2 separate regions of the Homo sapiens genome follow, and region 1 is linked to region 2. Evidence: promoter capture Hi-C in 16 types of primary human blood cells and fetal thymus (Javierre and others, 2016). All regions are on one chromosome and are shown on one strand. Each heading gives the region's core, a stretch centred on a gene start or on the middle of the fragment in contact. The rest is flanking DNA. Distances are from core to core; before and after follow the strand shown.

Evidence for each region. The method cuts DNA at HindIII sites, captures the fragments that hold promoters and counts their contacts. A CHiCAGO score of 5 or more calls a contact.
Region 1: a contact is called between a fragment that was not itself captured here and the fragment with the promoter of AKAIN1 in region 2, in 1 of 17 cell types (total CD8 T cells). The highest score is 5.3, in total CD8 T cells.

What each region holds. Positions count from the first base shown.
Region 1 is chr18:5,393,969-5,396,746 of GRCh38, forward strand. EPB41L3 (erythrocyte membrane protein band 4.1 like 3) reads right to left here. Exons shown (of 23, transcript NM_012307.5): 19 at 2,233-2,364; 20 at 1,641-1,739; 21 at 1,099-1,179; 22 at 709-825. The coding sequence ends at 715. Among named protein-coding and RNA genes, the nearest start is that of ZBTB14, 100 kb to the left of the region's middle. RefSeq lists an enhancer at 1,465-2,664. The HindIII fragment of the contact is 221 bases long and covers 1,198-1,418 here.
Region 2 is chr18:5,195,929-5,198,628 of GRCh38, forward strand. It overlaps AKAIN1 (A-kinase anchor inhibitor 1), which reads right to left and starts at 1,329. Exons shown (of 2, transcript NM_001145194.2): 1 at 1,110-1,329. The coding sequence starts at 1,125. The HindIII fragment of the contact is 4,568 bases long and covers 1-1,835 here.

The DNA of each region.
Region 1 (2,778 bases), core at 58-2,557, 200 kb after region 2:
GATGATATAGTCTGCTCATGATGCTGGCCAAACAGTCACTGGAAAGGTATGTGCTTTCTACAGGACCACAAGACTGCATTTTTTTTGCCTCCTTCTGAGACAGTGCTACGCTAGGGAGAAAAATCATCCCAAAGAATACAGGAAATATAAGACATCCAAAAAGAAAGTGAGTGCTCAGCTTTCAAATTAAAAAAACAAAACTAAAGACAAAAGCATAAACAGGTTACAATCAAACACAGTTGAAGAGAAAGCTTACGACGGGATAATGTTGCCATCAGAAGGAGAAAGGGGTATATATTATTTCCCTAGTATTTGGAACACACAAATTGAGCCTCTCAGAGCAAAACTGCCTTTGTTCCAATTAGGCCACATGGCAAGTAAAATCAAATTTGCCATTACAAATTTGGATAATCAAAGAGTGCAGGCCATGGAATAAAAGGGAACACCAGGAAGACCACACAAGCATAGAAGCATAGACTCTGCTCTTCCTTTATCCTCTAACTGGCAGTGCATGCAAAAACTCCACAAGAATGGAAGCTCCAAATGTGAGACAAACCCATAAACCAATTCTCCATCCTCTTGGTAACCAGCCCAACAAATGCCAGTGAGAGAACAGAGGAAAGGAGGGATCAGGTGAAGGATGAGAGGGAAGTGCCCCATGCCTCATGCCAGCCTAGGCAAGCCTAGAGAATCGGCATCACCTCTTACCTCTGGTCAATCCTCTCCATCTTCTGGTGTGATCTCTGTCTCTTTATGGACCACTACTTTGGTCACTGACATGTCAGGGTGCTGCTCTTTGGCCTCTTTAATTGCCTGAGCCAGCGCCTATCCCCGGGAAATCACAGAAGGGCAGAAACAAAAAGGAGGTGGAACATGCATGATCAGTGGTGAGGTGGAGACTTATGAGCTAGATCTATATCCACAATTTACAAATGAGGTACAATGATTACAAAAGGAATCATAAATCATATATTGGAAAGTTAATTCGGAATTTTCTTCGGAATACATGCTGGACTAGAGGAATAGCATTGAAACTGTAGGACCAACAGGTTTTTCTTTGTTTCTCTGCCAGGGTATTTACCGTCTCACACACACTACCTGGTCATGGTCAATGTCTGCATCCCCCGTGATGACTATTCGCTTCTCAATTCTTGTCTCTGAAATGCCCCCTTTCACAGTCTGCAAGACACGTAGAGAAGCTTTATGAATTTACTCACTGGGAGAAACCATCATGGTTCAGTAGGGGGAAATGGCCGAAGATGCTGACATCATTCACTCTTCGAGAATTGAAATTAGAGTTCTATGGCACTTATTTCACATTTTTAATTCCAGAGGTGAGGACGGAATGGAGGCCCTTGGGTCTGGATGGCCCATGTTTCTGGAACACTACCACATGCCAAGCACTGGAGTAAGCATTAAGCTTAGGATATCAGAATGTATATTCCTAAAGGGGAACTCGCACGTGAGGACAAGTGCATCGTAAATCTAGGGGCTGTAAAAGCTCCCCTTGCAGCTATCCCGGCGTCCTGAGCTTCAAGCCACCTTGTGCTTGTGCAGCCCAACCTGTGAGGAGTTCTGAACAAGCACCTTCCTCCAGCTCGCTCTCAAGGAATCCTCTTCTCGGTTCTCACTCCACTTACTTTGGTGATGTGCGTAGTGGTGGTGGTACTGGTGGTTTCAGATGTGATCGTCTGTGCACTCATCAGCACGCCTGGCTCCAGATCTGTGCCTGGATCGACCTAAAGCAGCAGAGGCATAGACCCCTCATCCAGGTGCTCACATCTGCTCTTCAGAAGTTGGCTACGTTATTTAAGGCATTACGACAATTTCACTATCTCCTATTATGCAATCATTATGCTCTTCAGAGTCTGAGCGCTGCTCCCAAGAATAAGTACTAAGTGCAACCACAGGTAACTGTCATTAAAAAAACTAAGGTTTCAGAAATGTGAGTGGTGGATGGGTGAGTGAATATTTTTCTTTCTCTGTGGCTAGGGAAACAGGTTTCTGAGCCTTTTTCTACACTTCAAGACACATAAAGACTTGGTTAAGTCATCTGCTGCTCCCTGATCACTAATAAAATGACCATTATTGCATCACTTTTAATAGAAATGGTCTGGCTGCTGGATCCTCTAAGTCTCATGAATTAAATATCGTGCAGTTCTATGTAAACACACTAGGCCATAGAGGGGTGAAATAAGCAGCCAGGGCTCTGGTCTTCACAGAATATCTCACCTGTGATGATTCATATGTGATGGTTTTGGTTTCGGTGTGAACTACTGGCACTTCCTTCGTGGAAATTTCTAGCTTTACTCCTCCCGGTGAAACACTGCCAAAACTGATGGTTTCCGTCTTCACCGTTGAGGACTGTGCCAAAGGGGAGTAAGCAGAGTGGCTGTTATAGTTTGCATGAACACATTGTTTTCTTCCTTTTCCTCTCTTGGTGGTTATAAGCACAGGTTAGTATGCTATAAATGTTTATGTAGAGAGTAAGCTGGGGAATGAGGCATACAACATGCACATGTCAGTCTCCTGGACTCTCATAGCACTTTTATATGAAATGCTCCAAGTAAAGCAAAACATTTTGAAGGCAATAAAAAAAAGTTTTCTATTTAATAACTTCTTAGAAAGAAGAAACTAATAATGAGACATTAACTCCCCAAATACTTCAGGAATCTCAATAAAAGAGGATAAAGAATAAAGTTCTGGCATTTAGGACCCGGGTAAACATGGTTTTGGTGCTTCTGGAAAAGTGCACTGATAAGAAATAAATGTATCACA
Region 2 (2,700 bases), core at 79-2,578:
CCAGCTAGCATTCTGAGGGGGAGGGGGAGGGGACTGACTTGCTCTTCTCAAGTTTTGCTAATTGAATTTTTTGAAGAAAAGACTCAATTCTTCCCTTTAAAAAAAAATGCATTACGCCTTTTCTCCCCAGCCATCTGAAGCCCATGACCACAGCAAATACATGCCAATCTTTCAAGTTAAAGACCCCAGGAACAAAGCTAGAGAGTTCTAGGCCCCTCCAGCCTTCCCCACTCCCTGTTTTCCACAGCAGTCTTTAACGAAATCAGACCCTAAAATGCGTGAGAGAGAAATACTTTGGATCTACCCCTAGAGACAGCGTCGGACGTTCACAACGACCACGCTTTTCCCCGCTTCCTCGATTAGCCTGGCCTCCCTTGCTCCAGTGGGGCGGACTCAAATGCGCACGCACGCACACGCCGCCAAGCCGGTCAACCGCAGACAAATCTGACTCTTCGCCAACTAGTAGCCACGGAGAGCAGCAAAGGGACCAAGGTCCTTCACCGCCTGCTCCAAAAAGACACGGCAACCTCCAGCGGCGCCGCAGTAGCTGCCTCTGTGCTGCAGCCTCCGGTCGGAGTTTCAGGTCTAATTCCTTAAGAAGTATCGCTCCTCTGCCCTTCGTCCTACTCCCCTTGGCTTCGCCCACTTCGCCTCCTTCTCCTCGGGAGGCCAGGAGGACCCGGGTCACTTTGCCAATTCTGCGGAGGGGGAAGTAGCAGTGAGGGAGATTCCCACGCAAGTAGCCCGAAGCCCACTACTCTTTGCCCCACCTCTCCACTCTCTTGCCCGTGTAGGTGCCGGTGCTGCTGGCGAAAGTCCCAGTTCTTAAGGCTCCTGAGCTCGGAAGGGGTGTGGAGGAGCCAGATGGGAAGAGAAGCAGCGGGACGAGGGCGAGGAAGGGCTGGAGATTGTTAGAGGACAGATGGGGCGGGACTGGGGAGAGGGGCGAAGGCGACGCGCCGAGGCACTCCTCCGCCCCATGAGCACAGACAGTAACTCCGAAACGCGCAGATGGGCCGTAAGGTAAAGAGGCCTTTTTTCCCTCTCCTCTCCGTCCTCTACCCTGCTCCCCTCCTAGACACTTGGTGAAAAAGCAAGGTGCGGTGTACCTGGAGCGAACACCATGATTTCTTCCAGCCGCTACGCCCCCAGATTAAGAGAGAAAGACAGGCAGACGGAGGATGGGAAGAAGGCCGGACTTGGCGGGGTCCGGTGCAGGAGGGCGCGCTGGGCGGGCGGCGGGCGGGGCGGTCAGCACCCCGGACAGCTCCCGCCGCTAGATCCTGGGGCCGCAGCTCCAGCCGCCGCCGCGCGCTCTGCCTCCACAATGCGGCCACAGCGGCGGCGGGAGGAGGAGGGTGAATCCCCGCTCAGTCCATCCCTCATTCCTGTGCCAGCTCGGCGACGTACACTGCTGCTTAGGGAGCAAAGCACTTCCACCGCTTTCACGCGACGAAGGTCGGAAGAGCAAGAGAGAGAAAGGTAAACTTCCCGGCAGGGGACAGTGAATTGCTTTTAATTACCTGCTGTGGCTCGTCGCCGTGGATATTGGACTGACATTTAAGATAGATTTGTCAAAAAAAAAAAACTCTAAGAGCTTTCTTTACTCTCGAGGATGACTCTGAGTTCTCCGAGTTGGGCTGGCTCGAATAGAGGGGCGGGTCTGTCAAGTTAATAGGTCCTGGAGGTCCGTGAGTCCTCTCTCGCGAGTCCCAGTCCTCTGCTAACGTCAGGAAGAGAGCAAGAGGAAGGACACAGTGACTATGGAGCGCTCGAGGAGGGCGCTACTATCAGGTTCCGCTCCCAGGTGGCAAATCCGGCTCTGAAAGCTCCTAAGCTTGAAGGTCCTCAAGGTCATCACTTTAGAAAAAGCAAGGCCGGCCAGGGCACAGGAAAGATAACGCATACACCCTTCACAAGGAAGAGCCAACAGAGCCCCCTGCAAGTGTGAGAACAGCCCTGAGATCAATCAAGAAACATCAGTTCTTCCCCTATCCTCACCCAGCTGAAAACTGTCTGCATGCCCCGCTCATACACCCAGTTCTACCTTAAAGGTACTGGGACTGCCTTATGCTCACTTCATCCTCCTAATCATTGCTCACTTTAGGTATCTATTCCCTAATAATGTCTGTGCAGTGTGAACAGCCCACACTAGATGTCACCCAGCTTGAAACAGGTCCATGTGGGTTACAAACCCAAAGCTAAAGCCACCCAGAATCCTCCAGCCTCTCCCCTATTTTTCCAGCTAAATAAGGTTTTCCAAGAACAAAGGTAATCAAGGTCATCTCCAGTGTTTTATGGGGTTTCTTCACTTGCAACTATCCCTGGAAAATGTAACTATTCTGAAAATTAAGTATTTCCTGATAATTGGTTGATGGCAATAAGTTCTACAGTCTTTTGGCAAATATAAAGCATCCAAATAGACTGATTGGCACTGTTTTTTTTTTAAAGCCATCCGATAGACTGAAAATGCAAATAGTTTTACAGCTTTTGAACTACAGTTTGCATGAAGGCATATGGGCAGCCTCAACATAATACAATCAGTACTGCTGTTAGCACCTGGCTCAACACAGGCTTGAACATATGGGGCCTACCCCAGCAGCAGCAAGATGAAAGTCAGCTGATGGGCAGGATAAAGCGTGTGCATGACAGGATAGAGTTCTCCCATTTTGCCAAGTTTCTCCAATGATGCTTCACTCT